Linked DNA regions of Homo sapiens: all the other regions are linked to region 1. Evidence: promoter capture Hi-C in human tissues and cell types (Jung and others, 2019). All regions are on one chromosome and are shown on one strand. The core of a region is centred on a gene start or on the middle of the fragment in contact, and the rest is flanking DNA. Distances in the headings are between cores, read along the strand shown.

Region 1 (5,108 bases), core at 1,109-3,608:
AAAGGCTGAGAACTGTCTGTATTTCAGGATCTAGGCCAAGGGGCCAACGAGAAATAAGAAGGCCACTCTTGGTATTGTTTATTATATCCTATTGCAAAGGGCTCCCATAGAAAGAACTGGGATCTAAGGGCCTGTGAAGGAGGATTAGGTGGTGAGTAACATCTCCATATAGTCAGTATGTTTTAAACCTGGAGGAGCATGGCTAGAGACAGGGGGAAGAGCCAGACTTGGCCACTGTCTAAGAACCCTTGGTAGGAGTTTCAGCCCTGCAGGTAACTCTTTTTTGCAATGTCAGCACTACAGGACAAAGGTGGGAAAGAGGAAAGCACATGAATCCCAGATTCCTGCACTCAGAGATTCCGAAGGCGACTTATTGTGGCCTCTTAGGTGTTAGAGGGAAGGCTGGGGGTGCCTGAAATCCCTGCCCACTTCCTGGCTGCCCAGGGCCAAGGAGGGCCTGGTTATAGGCCCAACTCAACAAACTTCTCCCCCATCCATCCTTTTACCACACCACCCCCAGTCATCACAGAAAAATGACCCAATTACTCAGCCTCCTGCCTTAATTGTGGGACACATAGTGACTAAGTGTTCACAATTGCCCATTTCTTCCACCCCCCCCCCACCCGCCACTTTGCCTTGACCAAACATGAGTCAGGCTTCTCTCCAGCAGGTCCCTGGAATTTAGCTTGCCCCCCAAATCTGAGCAAGAACTAAAATGTGAAACATTCACCATTGTTAGCTTATCTTCCAAATTCTTGGACCACAGAGACACATTTCTTGTTCAACCAAGAGGGTCTTGAAGTGAGTTGTTTCCCCCATCCACTTGGCTTTGCCTATTGCTTGCTCCCCCTTATATATATAGAAAAAAAAGGCCGATTTCTGTTTGGTTTTGAGAGGTTTGCAGATTTCTGAGATCAGAGCGTTTTCCCTGTTGCAATAGTCTTTCTTTCTAATGGAAGTCTCCCTATCTTATCTAAATTCGGATTTGTTTCTGTTTGACGTTAATGTGTAGCTAAGAGTGATCCCAGGTGAGTCTGAGCCCGCCTTGGTGGGGAATGAAGCCTGGAGCATCGGAGCATTTGTCTTTCTCTTAGAAAAGGCAAGGAAGCCTGAAATGCGCAGCTCTCCCTTGAACTTCAACTTTTTAAAGGGGAATGAATTTCTAAAGGAGGAGTTTCCAGTCTAGGGCTGTAGGGGCCTCCGGGCAAAGGAAGTGCTTGTTGAAAAACAACATTGTGATCACTTCCAGCGGCGAAGGGTGTGCTTGGGAACGGTTTGGGGAGGGGACAGAAGAGAGAGGGGTGGGATGGACGGCGGCAGAAGTGGGAGGTACACGAGGAGTTACTGGAAACGGCGCTTCTGTGGAGGAGCCGGGGGGGATGGGGAGTAGAGGGAGGGGGCCCTGTTGCCTCAGCGCCCCGAGGTCGTGGAGCGGCAGCAGCTGCAGCCGGAGCAGCACCAGCAACAGCAACAGCGAGCGGGACGGAGTTAGGACCGCTCGGAGCGCACAGGTCTCGAGGTAGTATAAGGTTTGCTATCCTTCCACTTGCTGGCAGTTGCAGAAGAAGATCTGCTTTTTAAGTGAAACGTACATGCCACCCCTCCGAGGGCTGCGGCTTCCCCGGGCTTGCTTCTTTGCCGCTCCTCTTTCCGGCTCTCGCGCTCACTCTTTAATTGGCACTGGCCCCTAAGTTTGCCAGGAGCTCGCTGCCCGCTCGGAGCAGGGTCCCGGCCGGGAGCCGCTGGTGGGGGCGGGGAGTCCGGGAGCCGCAATCCAGAAGCGTCGTGGGCCATGTATATTTCATCAAACGGACTTTGGGTGCGTCGCGTCTCACTGCCATCAGTGCTATGTGCAGTGACATTTCTGACTTGAGTGGAGGAATGCGCGAAGGAAACCCGGGCGAAATTGGTATTAGAGGATCTTCTTGGCGCCAATGCTAATTGTCCTGATTTATGCCCCTTCTGACTAAGCTCAACGTCTTCATCTGAAATAAAATGAAAGCGGTGCCAAGCGGCATAGAACCGCCTGGCCGCTGGTTCTGATCCCCGGGAACCAGAAAATCGTCCTGCGGCTTGAAAAAAAAAAAAAGAGGAAAAAAAAAAGAAATAGAAATAGAAAAAAGAAAAAATATCCCTCAGTAAAAGTTTAAGGCGAGAAGTGTCAGAGGCAGCGGAGCGAGGAGGCGCGGAGGAGAGCCGGCGAGCAGGGGACTGGGCTGGCACGACCTCCGAAGGCTGAGATCTCATTATTAATATCACTATATTTTTGGAGGGAGAGGCACCTTTCTCATCCTCTCTTCCTCTCCGCCCACCCTTACTCCCTCCCCCTCATCTACCTGTCAAAGTCACTGATCTTTTGCATTTCGGAAGAGGACGTCAACGGGAAGGAATTCCCCCTCTGGGTGCGGGCTCCGAGAGGGGGCGACTTGCAGGAGGCTCCCCCCGGGGGCGGAGGCGAAGGTAATTAAGCGGCGGGGAGTGGCGGGCCGGCGCTGGGTTCTCGGTCCTCGGGGTCCTCTCCCGCCGGCGGCCGGGCGCGATCGGAATCCCCGGGCTGCGGCGGTGGCGGCGGCTCGGGTCCTCACGCCCACCCCTCCCGCTCCGCCCGCTCCCGCCTGGGGAGGAGGCTCCGCGGGAGCTGCCGCCCTCCGCCCGTACGCCGCCCGCGGGCTCCGCTGCTGCGGCCGCCGCCCGAGGCGGACCAGGCTGGCTGCGCAGGGCCGCCGCCCCGCGCCGTCGGCTCGGCTCCCGCCCGGCGCAAGGGCAAACGAGCCACACGGTAAGTGCCTGCGGCTCGCCTCTCCTACTGCGACCCGAGCCTCTCGCCCGTGCCCCTCTCCCCCGGGTTTCCCCACCCCCCGCCGCCCCCCGCCCCACCCGCTGCGATGCACAGGCGGGAGGGAAGGCTCCGGGTGGGCGAGGAACTTTGTAAAGCGCCCCGAGGAGGCAGCGCGCGGAGCCCTACGCGCACACACAGCGGCACACGCTCACACCCACACACAAGTCTTCCCGGGGGTGCGCCCCGGGCCGGTGATGCGTCCTCTTGTTGTGTCCGGAGCCCAGGCGTGGGGTCTGAGCCTCCATCCGCCGACTGACAGGGGCCCCGCGCTCTCCCTCTCTCACGCACACCTGGCCACACACATCGCTCAGGCGGCTTGTCGTTATTTTTTCTTTCTTTCGCCAATTATATTTGTTTGGGGAAAAGCAAACAAAAAAAACAAAAAAACACTTGCCCTATTGCCGGCCTTGGGGATCTGGTGGCCACATCGAGAGCTTTTGAAGTCCCTTCTTTTAATCGCCTTTATTGGTGCTAGATTAAAACATTACTATCCCATGTTGTGCAGCTGGGGAGAAAGGGAAATTGAAAGAGGAAGACTTGGTGTAGGGATGCTGTTTGGAATATTCTCTCATATTCTTTACTGGCATCATATTAATCGGTTGATGGATTCGGCTAGGGACACTGAATTGCACTCCTGTATGGATCTGTGGATATCTATATATAATACAAATAATACTGAATATTATTGGGCCTAAAATAACCAATTAAGTGATTCATACAAGGAAAAACTTAGATATAAAAAGAAACTGCGCCCTCTGCTGTTAATTTTAGTACCCTCACCCGGGGACTTTTTTTTTTTTTCCTTCAGAAATCCACTTAAGAGTAGGCTGTCATCTTACAGGGCAAGGGAAGAAAATTCCTAGCGGGGATTTTAAAGCAACTTTACTTGGAAAAGTCGCAGGTTGAGCTCCTATAGTTGCATCAGGTACAGATTTCCAGTGAGTAGACGGTCCTCCTCTCTCACCCATTCTTCTCTTTATACAGGGAATAATGGAGCCACTCCTCATAACAAATTGTCAATCTTTGGAATGGAAAATTCTGAGTAAGATTCAGAACTCCACTAAACATATGGTGAATCTGGCAGTAGAATTGCTCTAGAAATAAGGCCCTGTTTTATGACTGAAAATACTAAAAGTTGTTTTATCTTACAGAAATGAAAAAAAAAAAAACCCAGGAAGATCTTCCATTAAAATCACTTATTCAGATATGCTTAGTAGTTAAGCTTGTTGGAAAGTTTTCCAAAAAATAATTTTTTTTTTTTTCAGGGGAGGCTTTTCTGTTTTGTTTGTCCCTTGAGGAGGATCTCTAGTGAGGGAATTAGCAATTCCACATTTCATTAAGTATTTTGAACTGTGTCACTTTGAATGCCTTACCCGCCTCCCTTTCTCTTTGGCAAAGGAAAAGCAGCTCAGTAACTGTCCAAGATTCTTTTTGAAGATAAGCAACTTTCGATTTTTCATTAAGATAAAATTTGGATCTCTGCATGTGGATCAACATGCAAGGAAAAATGTGCATCAAGTATTTCACATGTAATGTTGTTCCAGGGATATATTTTCTTTTCTGGATGCCGTGAAATGAGATATATTTCACCCACTGAAGACCACCATGAAGGCATTCAGGATTCTATATACTGCACTACTAATTTGGTGGTATTTCCTTACTGTGGAATTTAAGACGGATAATCTTAAAACTTTTGCATGGAAACAGTTTATTTGAACATAAAGCTGGTTTCCTGTTAATATTTTTGTTTTGTCAGTTTTCAATGGGTATATGTGTTAAAATGATTCAGGTTAGCCTTTTTAGGAGGAGGCAAATGTATTTTGCAGTTTCCTTTTGTATATTTGCAAGTGGTGCAAATACCTATTTTTGCTTCCATTATTATTCTGAAAAATATTCAGGTAATTTGTTTAAAAAGTTAAACCATTACACATTTATTTGATAGGATTTCTAAGTGTCATAAAAATTTGGAGAGTTTTAGTTACAAAGGCATCAAGTCACTTGGAAAAAAGAAAATTGGATTCAACTTTGAAAACCAATTATATGTTAACATTGAAATATATGTGTGTGAATTATATTGTATAGGAGATTATATTAGTAAAGTCTTAGGTTAGTATGAGATTTAGCATACTTTAAAAAATAATTTTATTTGCAGAATCCAAAGTTCTGTTTCAAAACTTCAGGTAGGTGTAGATTTTCTCATATATGCGTTTGAGACCTTAGATCTCTGAACTTCCCTGCATGAGAATTAAATATTTGTTTTTCATGTGGT
Region 2 (5,108 bases), core at 1,446-3,945, 460 kb before region 1:
AAATGTCACTTACAACAAAGGTAAACTATAAAATATAGATGAGGGAGGAAGCAGAAGTAAGTTTAAAAAAAGTTTCTTTTTAAATTTAAAACCTTCAAAATTAATTCCTACCTCATGTAGCTGTGACAAATGAGAAATCTTAGAAGAGAGTTACAGAAGGAGACCAGTGGGTGAGACTGTACACAGAGAGACAGTTACATCGTCAGAAAGCCAGACCTCTTGTGCCATTCTCACTCCCTCCTCATACTTCCCAGCTTTGGCACTTTATGCAAATATGTACCTTATTCCTAGCACATATCCACAGATTTCCTCCACTCTCTAAAGAAGCTTGGAGAACTCCCTAAAGAGAGCTGGAGGTGTGGGGATGTGTATTCATTTGCCACCATTGGGCAATCAGGTTAAATAAACTTGTTTTACTGCAATCTCCAAGGTTGCAAGCAAACTAAAGCAAAGAATGAGTGTATGAAAATGCTGCATGGATAAATGTGGGAAAGGAAGATTACTAAATGCACAGTTAGTGAAAAATTTCCAAAGCATTATTATATCTGTGCACAGCTTTACAATTTTAACAATATCGCAACTTTAATTTTTAGATTTTCAAGTAAAGACTCTGCTGAATTGCCAGTGTTCTACAGACCAGAACAAAACCTGACTTAGTAGAATGGATTACACAAGTAAGTCATGTAAGGCAGCATGAAGACCACCCAGCTTTACTTTGTGAGGTGTAATTCTCACTGTAGACTTCCATGTCATTCAAAGCAGAGCATTTAGGGCAGAAAACCTCAGGATATTGTGCAATATCCTTTTAGGACTGGCCCATTCCCAAGCTGTACTGTAATCAGTGGATTAAAAAAAAAAAAAGCACGTAAGCATAAATTGGGAGAGTGTAAGAGATAAAGTCAGATTTCTTCAGTTTTAAGTGGGGGGGACCTATCTTATATCTACCCCCAGTACCAAGAACAATGCCAAGAGGGCACGTGCTTCTTATATACAGTATAGGAAGCAATGCACATAGCCTTGTTCATTGCACACTTGCTGTGCGACCATAGGCAAGTCATTTTCCGTCTCCAACTTTAGTATGTCCCTTACAAAGGGTGGTTGGTAATGAAACCTCTCTCTGGGATTGTTTCAAAATGTGATTAGATTACGCCTGTGAAAGCACTCTGTGAACCCTAAAGTGCTCTGCAAATATAAGGGATAAAATGTTGGAAAGCTGCCTCTGGATGATTCCTTCTCAAATATGCCCAGATATTAACATTTTAGTGGTGAAAAAAAGACTGCTAATATTTCCCATTGGCACTTTTCTATTGCAGAAGTAAGTAATCTAAGTAGACGCAGTACTTTTTTTCCTCAAGACTCAACAAAGCTACTTTCATTTAAATTGCAGCACGTCAACATTTTTATTTTCCCCGAGTTGACTGTTTTGGGAAATATATATATGCTCACCCCTTGTCTAATTTCCATTAGACTCTGAAAGTCAGAGTAGCCCTATCCTGGTCTTGACATTACATCTCTCTGTGTGACCTTGGGCAAATTACTGTTCTTGCTATCATTAGTTCAGTACAGGTATATATATGGCCCCTAATGCATGCCAAGCTCTGTGTTAGGCTCAGCCTGAGATACTGAAAAAAGAGCAAAAGTCCCCTACAGCTAAGAAGTTTACATTAAGTTTTTTAGTCTCCCAAACAGAAATGATAATCACTGTGCTATCCACCTCCCAGATTTGATGTGAGGTTAAAAGACAGCACAGAAGAGTACTTGGCAAAATTCAAAAATGGTACATAAATGCAACATGTTATTATTACCAAACATAAAATTATCAACAGCGTATAGATGGTGAAAGAATACTTGAGAGAAGAGGAGATTAATATTTATCGAGCTTCTGCTCCATACAGAGAAATGTACATATATTACTCTACCTACACAACAAACTGGTTAGGTGGATATTAATCACTGCTTTTGACCAAAGGGAAATACAATAGTTAAAGGAATCTAGTTAAAAAATCAGAGCCACTATTCAAACCATAGCCTGATTGCAAAAGACTCTACAGAAACCGTTTATATAGATTTTTATATTGCTTCAGAAATCCACATATATTTCACCAGAAAAGAAAGAGCCCCCAAAAGTTAACAAGCAGCAATTTCAGTTGCAGAAGTAGACAAGAACATATTTTTAACTTATTTTTAAAAATAACAAAGAAGGAAAGAAACAAAATGAACTAATTTAATTAATAGAGCAACACAAGGAATCAAAAAAGGTATCATTATCTTTTCTAATTCCCTAAACAAGGCTCCTGCCTAAAATGATTTTTGTTTAAAAGCAAAACTAATGTTGTTTTCTGAATCCTTAAGTAGATAGAATGGATGGAAAGCTGCACATTTCAGCACTCACACAGTTAAAAGAATCACTTGAGAGGGCTTCGTGAAATCGAAATTTCTGTAATGCTTTCTGTGTGGATTAGCATACCAAGCAAAGTACAAAGGTAGCTTAATGCCTAGATATATTAAAACCAAGAGCTTAACTTCTAATATCCTCTCTCCAATCAGGTATGGATTTACAAAACATTTTACTCTTGTTGTTAGTTTTCCTAGCTAAAACTCACAACTAAATCCATCAGCGTAAAAGATTGTTGAGTTATATTGGTATGATTTTCAAAATTTATTTTCAACCTATAAAGCAGAATAAGATAAACTCCAGGGGTATGCGAAAGCTGGAAACTGCTTAGAAGCAGCTAACAGGGCACATATAAATCAAGCAGCCTGGAATTATAAATATGTAATAACTGTTTAGAAAAAAAATTTAATGATTGAATCTCTTGCTGACCTAAATGGATATGAATTAACACTTCTCCTTCACAGTGGGAAGATAACTAGTAATATTTATCTAGCATCTACTAAATGCTAGACCTGTGTCAATGCATTTTATACATTATCTCATTTACTTCCCATAAGAAAAACCCTATGAAGAGAGTAATATTGTATTTATGTTCTAGCCAGATGATGGAACTTCCAGATGATAGAACTGAGATTTAGAATTTAAATAATGGTCCAAGAGTGCACAGCTAATAAATAACGGAGCCGGAATTGAACTCAGCCTGTCTCTTTCTACTATCCTATTCCATGTCAGGTGCCATAGAGGATCACACCTCTTTTCTGTGTGCCATTTGCAAATATAAAAAAGCTTGGAAGGCAATGAAAAGAATTCCAAGTATAGATTCATTCACTGATTTAACAAATAATTCTTAAGTACCTATTCTCTGTCAAGCCCAGTGATGAAAAGCACAGTCGTGAAGGAAATAAATGTGGGCCTTGCTCTCATGGGGTTTACAGTACAGATTATTTTAGGCTTTGAGACTGAGCCTTTCCCAGACACTCCAAAATTGAGAAGAAACTCCTCATAAATTGAGACTCTATGTGGTGAGTCAGATATGCCTACTCTATTACTTACTGGCTGTTGACACATGCTAAATAGTAAACATACTTTATAGATGAGTGTCATCTATAAAATAGAGATAATAAAAATTGCACTATCCACCTCAAGATAGTATTGTAAAGAATAAATAACATAATGCATGTGAAATTATCACAAACATTCAAAGATAGACACATACATCTGTGTATATATACATACATAAAAGGATAATCATTATGCTTTTCAAGGTGAAGACATTATATATTTACCTTATTGAAATAACAATTAGCCAAGGGCAGTGGCTTATGCCTATAATCCCAGCACTTTGGGAGGCAATGCAGGAGGATCCCTTGAGCCCAAGAATTCAAGACCAGCTTGGGCAACATGACAAGACCCCATCTCTACAAAATTTGTTAAAAAAATTTTCAGGGCATGATGGCATGCCCTTGTTGCCCCAGCTACTTGGGAGGCTGAGGTGGGAGGATTGCTTGAGCCTAGGAGTTTGAGGCTACAGTGAGTTATGATTATGCCACTGCATTCCAGCCTGGCCAACAGAGCAAGACTTTACCTGAAACTATGAAAAGTAATTATTATGTGACATGATGGCAACAGTTGCTACCAGATTGGGAAGTTGTGAGGTTTCTGCTAATGTAGACACATAGATAATACATGGGAAAAATGGTTGCAGAAAAGAATAAGTTATTCATAATTTTAATTACTTGTTATTTGATAATATAGTATCAAGGCATCTTGTAGCCTCACAAAGCATAACTTTGGATTTCCTACCTTGTGGTTTTGTATTTAGCTAGTCAACCCAAATCCTTTCCCCAAACACAGCGCAATGAGAACAGCAAGTTAACATGAAGTTTTAACAAAGAGATGCTCATTGCCATGCACTGTGCTGGACAATGAAGAGATGCCGGGCATGGTGGCTCACACCTGTAATCCCAGCACTTTGGGAGGCCAAGTCAGACAGATCACGAGGTCAAGAGATCGAGACCATCCTGGCCATCATGGTGAAACCCCGTCTCTACTAAAAAATACAAAAATTAGCTTGGCATGGTGGTGCATGCCTGTAGTCCCAGCTACTCTGGAGGCTGAGGCAGGAGAATGGCTTGAACGCGGGAGGCAGAGGTTGCAGTGATCTGAGATGGCACCAATGCACTCCAGCCTGGTGACAGAGTGAGACTCCATCTCAGAAAAAAAAAAGAATGGTTCATGAGAGAGGAGCCATGTTCTCAGGGAACTTGTAGTATACTGAAAGACGCTTGCAGAAAATAGACATATACTATTCGCTGTGGCAAAGTTTGAAAACAGGATGATTGGGGACACAACGGGAATACAGATTCAAGACACAAATTCATCCTCGTGTTTAAGAAACCCCTAAACCAAGGACTGGGGCATAAAAAGGCAATTTCCTGGTAAAGGTGAGTACTTGTTGGTAGGAGAATGGAGAGAAGTCACGGTGCAAACACATGGAAACAAAAGCAAGTGGAAAACACTAGTAACTACAACACAGTTCACTGTGGCTAACATGTGGCATGCAGAGGGTAAAACAGGACAAACTGAAACTGGAGCAAACTGAAACTGGAGTTTGTTTGCAGCAAAATCTGAAACTGGAGGCCTTGACTAGGGAGAGGTATTTTGGGAATAAAGACTCTTGATTGTATTAAGGAATGTGGAATCTCTTCTCAGA
Region 3 (5,108 bases), core at 1,330-3,829, 290 kb before region 1:
CTCATGAATCTGTATCTTCAATCCAATATCTCACCAACTTCGCTCTCATCTTCAGTTGTCTCTACTCATAATTATCCCTGGATGAAAAAGGAGTAAAGTTCCCTTTTACTGCTTCTATGTTACATCCTGAGGTAGCTTCCTTTCATTATGGAATAAATTCTATGATGTGATCCAAAAGCCCAGTGCTTTATATTTCAAATAGGAGGTAAAGGATTAAAAAACAAATAGAAAAATAAAACAAACCAACTTTTTACTTTTAAAATACTGTTTAACCTGCTATAACATAATATTGAATTTTTATTTCTCTAGGAATTTCTTTTATAGCAATCCTAATGCCCATTTCAAGCCCCTCAAACATACAACAAAAAGGAACAAAAAGCAGAAACAAAATTCTTCAGTAAGAGAACAGTAAGATTAAGCAGATTGGTAAGGAGGACAAATGCAAGATATAATACAGAAATCAATGGCTTTTTTATACTAGCAATGTGGCTTGAAATTGAAATGGTATGAAATTATACATTTACAATAACAACAAAAACTATCAGATACTAAGGTGTTAATTTAACAAGAAAATTCAAGATCTAAGTGAAGAACAACATGAAATCTTATTATTAAGGGGCACAAAACCAAAACAAGCAAATGAAGATCTATACTATATTCTTAGATGGGAAAACTTAGTATCATTAAAATGTAAGTTTCCCCAAAAATTAATATATATTTTTTAGTTCCAACACCACAGATTTTTTAAAGGGATATGGATAAAGTATCTTAAAGTTAGTATATCAGAATTATAGGAACTCATAAAGAAACAGGTAATGGAAGAATATTCATTCCACCTGATATTAAAAATTATTATATATTTTCTGCAATTCAATTGTATTGTCATAGGAAGAAAAAATAGATCAATGGAACAAAACTAGTAGTTTAGAAATATAACACAGCATAAGTGGAGATCCACTATTTGACAAAGGTGGTTTTAATTAATCAGCAAATATATAATTTATTTAATAAAGAATGTTGGAACAACTGGCCATCCATCTGGCAATACATAAAGCTGAACTGGTACCTCATACATGAAGAGATACAAAAATAAATCCAAATGTGTTAAGAAACTAAATGTAAAATGAAATACATAAAGAAAGATAGATATGCAAATATAACTTTGGATAGGGAAAACTTCTTAAACAAAATGAAAAATCCAGAAGTTTTAAAAGATAAGATAGCTATATTTAACTATGTAGAAATTAAACATTTTTTGTATGGAAAATAATACCACAAAACAGTAAAAAATAGATTAAAAAATATTTTCAACATATTTAACAGAAAAAAAAATTGCTAACCATAGTACAAAAAGAACTTTTTCCAAATTCATAAGAAAAAGTCAAACCACTTAATAGAGAAATAATCAAATAATACGAACACATAAATAACTGGAGAACAAATCCAAATGTAATTAATATACAGTCAGTAGACATATAACCTCATCAGTAGGCAAGGAAATATAAGCTAATATCATTAAGACATTTCTGGTAATTACCAGACTGGCAAAATTAAAACCAAAGGAGAGCTAAAGACCTTTCTGGTGAGAATGGACACAGAACAGAATAAAAGAAAAATAATTTTTCCCTGTGGTAAATAATGTCAATATATATTAAAAATACAAATAACCTTTGTATCAGTCAGCATTCTGGGCTGTAATAAGAGAAATGGGTCCTGAAATTTAAATAGGAAAGCAACTTATTGACAGAATATCAATCATTTACAGAATTTACAAAAAGACTAAAGAATGAAACAATGAAAATGGGCAAGGAAGAGACCTGGGCAAGATGGCCAAATAGGACCAGCTCCTTTCTGCAGCTCCCAAGGAGATCAATGCAGAAGGCGGGTGATTTCTGCATTTCCAACTGAGGTACTTGGCTCATCTCATTGGGACTGGTTAGACAGTGGGTGCAGCCCATGGAGGGCAAGCAGAAATAGGGTAAGGCATCGCCTCACCCAGGAAGCACAAAGGGTTGGGGAACTCCCTCTCCTAACCAAAGGAAGCTGTGAGGGACTGTGCCCCAAGGAATGGTGTATTCCAGCCCAGATACTACATTTTTCCCACAGTCTTTGCAACCCACAGACCAGAAGATTCCCTCCGGTGCCTACACCACTAGGGCCCTGGGTTTCAAACACAAAACTGGGCGGCCATTTGAGCAGACACTGAGCTAGCTGCAGGAGTTTTTTTTCGTACCCCAGTGGCACCTGGAATGCCAGCGAGACAGAATCATTCACTCCCCTGGAAAGGGGACTGAAGCCAGGGAGCCAAGTAGTCTAGCTTAGCAGATCCCACCCCCATGGAGCCCAGCAAGCTAAGATCCACTGGCTTGAAATTCTCACTGCCAGCACAGCAGTCTGAAGTCCATCTGGGATGCTCAAGCTAGGTTGGGGGAGGGGTGTCTGCCATTATTGAGGCTTGAGTAGGCAGTTTTCCCCTCACAGTGTAAACAAAGCCACTGGGAAGTTCAGACTGGGCAGAGCCCACCACAACACCTCAAAGCCCCTGTAGCCAGACTGCCTCTCTAGATTCCTCCTCTTTGAGAAGGACATCTCTGGAAGAAAGGCAGCAGCCCCAGTCAGGTGATAATAAATAAAACTCCCATTTCCCTGTACAGAAACCTGGGAGAAGGGGCAGCTGTGGGTGCAGCTTCAGCAGACCTAAACATTGCTGCCTGCCAGCTCTGAAGAGAGCAGCAGATCTCCCAGCACAGTGCTCCAGCTCTGCTAAGGGACAGACTGCCTCCTCAAGTGGGTCCCTGACCCCCGTGCCTCCTGACTGGGAGACACCTCCCAGCAGGGGTCAACAGACACCTCATACAGGAGAGCTCTGGCTGTCATCTGGCAGATTCCCCTCTGGGATGAAGCTTCCTTAGTAAGGAACAGGCAGCAATATTTGCTGTTCTGCAGCCTCTGCTGGTGATACCCAGGCAAACAGGGTCTGGAGTGGAACTCCAACACACTCCAGCAGACCTGCAGCAGAGGGGCCTGACTATTAGAAAGAAAACTAACAAACAGAAAGGAATAGCATCAATATCAACAAAAAGGATGTCCATATAAAAATCTCATCTGAAGGTCACCAACATCAAAGACCAAAGGTAGATAAATCCACAAAGATGAGAAAAAAACAGTGCAAAAAGGCTGAAAATTCCAAAAACCAGTACAGCTCTTCTCCTCCAAAGGATCACAACTCCTCATCAGCAAGGGAGCAAAACTGGACAGAGAATGAGTTTGACGAATTGACAGAAGTAGGCTTCAGAAGGTGTGTAATAACAAACTCCTCCAAGCTAAAAAAGCATGCTCTAACCCAATGCAAGGAAGCAAATAACCTTGAAAAAAGGTTAGAGGAATTGCTAACTAGAATAACCAGTTTAGAGAAGAACATAAATGACCTGATGGAGCTGAAAAACACAGCACGAGAACTTAGTGAAGCATACACAAGTATCAATAGCTGAATCAATCAAGAAGAAAAAAGGATATCAGAGATTGAAGATCAACTTAATGAAATAAAGCAGGAAGACAAGATTAGAGAAAAAAGAAAAGGAATGAAAAAAACTTCCAAGATATGTGGGATTGTTTGAAAAGACCAAACCTACGTTTGATTAGTGTATCTGAAAGTAACAGGGAAAATGGAACCAAGTTGGAAAACACTCTTCAGGATATTATCCAGGAGAAATTCCCCAACCTAGCAAGACAGGCCAATATTCAAATTCAGGAAATACAGAGAACACCACAAAGATACTCCTTGAGAAGAGCAACCCCAAGACACATAATCGTCAGATTGAACAAGGTTGAAATGAAGGAAAAAATGTTAAGGGCAGCCAGAGAGAAGGTCCGGTTACCAACAAAGGGAAGCCTGTCTCTCTGCAGATCTCTCTGCAGAAACCCTGCAAGCCAGAGGATAGTGGGGGCCAATAGGCCCAGAATTTCATATCCAGCCAAACTGAGGTTCATAAGTGAAGGAGAAATAAAATCCTTTACATACAAGCAAATACTGAGAGATTTTGTCACCACCAGTCCTCCCTTACAAGAGCTCCTGAAGGAAGCACTAAGCATGGAAAGGAAAAACTGGTACCAGCCACTGCAAAAATATACCAAATTGTAAAGATATCGACACTATGAAGAAACTGCATCAACTAACGGGCAAAATAACCAGCTAACATCATAATGACAGGATCAAATTCACACAAAACAATACTAATCTTAAATGTAAATGGGTTAAATGCCCCAATTAAGAGATACAGACTGGCAAATTGGATAAAGAGTCAAGATTCATCAGTGTGCTGTATTCAGGAGACACATCTCACGTGCAAAGACACACATAGGCTCAAAATGAAGGGATGGAGGTATATTTACCAAGCAAGGGGAAAGCAAAAAAAGCAGGAGTTGCAATCCTAGTCTCTGATAAAACCGACTTTAAACCAACAAAGATCAAAAAAGACAAAGAAAAACATTACATAATGGTAAAGGGATTAATGAAACAAGAAGAGCTAACTAACCTACATATATATGCACCCAATGCAGGAGCACCCAAATTCATAAAGCAAGCTCTTAGAGATCTACAAAGAGACTTAGACTCCCACACAATAATAGTGGGAGGCTTTAACACCCCACTGTCAATATTAGATTAATGAGACAGAAAACTAACAAGGCTATTCAGTACTTGAACACAGCTCTGGACCATGTGGACCTGATAGACAACTACAGAACTCTCCACCCCAAATCAACAGAATATACATTCTTCTCAGCACCACATCACACTTATTCTAAAATTGACCACACGATTGGAAGTAAAACACTCCCCAGCAAATGCAAAAGAACAGAATTCATAACAAACAGTCTCTCAGGCCACAGTGCAATCAAATTAGAGCTCGGGATTAAGAAACTCACTCAAAACTGCACAACTACATATAAACTAAACAACCTGCTCCTGAATGACTACTGGGTAAATAACGAAATTAAGGCAGAAATAAATAAGTTCTTTGAAACCAATGAGAACAAAGATACAATGTACCAGAATCTCTGAGACAAGGCTAAACCAGTGTGTTTACAGGGAAATTTGTAGCACTAAA

What was found. Contacts are between HindIII fragments. The study calls those that stand out against the background at their distance.
Region 2: a contact is called between a fragment that was not itself captured here and the fragment with the promoter of NTNG1 in region 1, in 1 of the 25 tissues and cell types used here (H1 embryonic stem cells).
Region 3: a fragment that was not itself captured here is called in contact with the fragment with the promoter of NTNG1 in region 1 in 1 of the 25 tissues and cell types used here (mesendoderm cells).

Annotation. Positions count from the first base shown.
Region 1 is chr1:107,138,681-107,143,788 of GRCh38, forward strand. NTNG1 (netrin G1) reads left to right here and starts at 2,359. Exons shown (of 8, transcript NM_001113226.3): 1 at 2,359-2,460. RefSeq lists an enhancer at 1,999-2,530 and silencers at 2,464-2,753, 2,774-3,053. The HindIII fragment of the contact is 9,891 bases long and covers 1-5,108 here.
Region 2 is chr1:106,675,435-106,680,542 of GRCh38, forward strand. No RefSeq gene overlaps it. Among named protein-coding and RNA genes, the nearest start is that of LINC01661, 140 kb to the right of the region's middle. The HindIII fragment of the contact is 5,746 bases long and covers 1-5,108 here.
Region 3 is chr1:106,851,136-106,856,243 of GRCh38, forward strand. No RefSeq gene overlaps it. Among named protein-coding and RNA genes, the nearest start is that of LINC01661, 35 kb to the left of the region's middle. The HindIII fragment of the contact is 3,613 bases long and covers 774-4,386 here.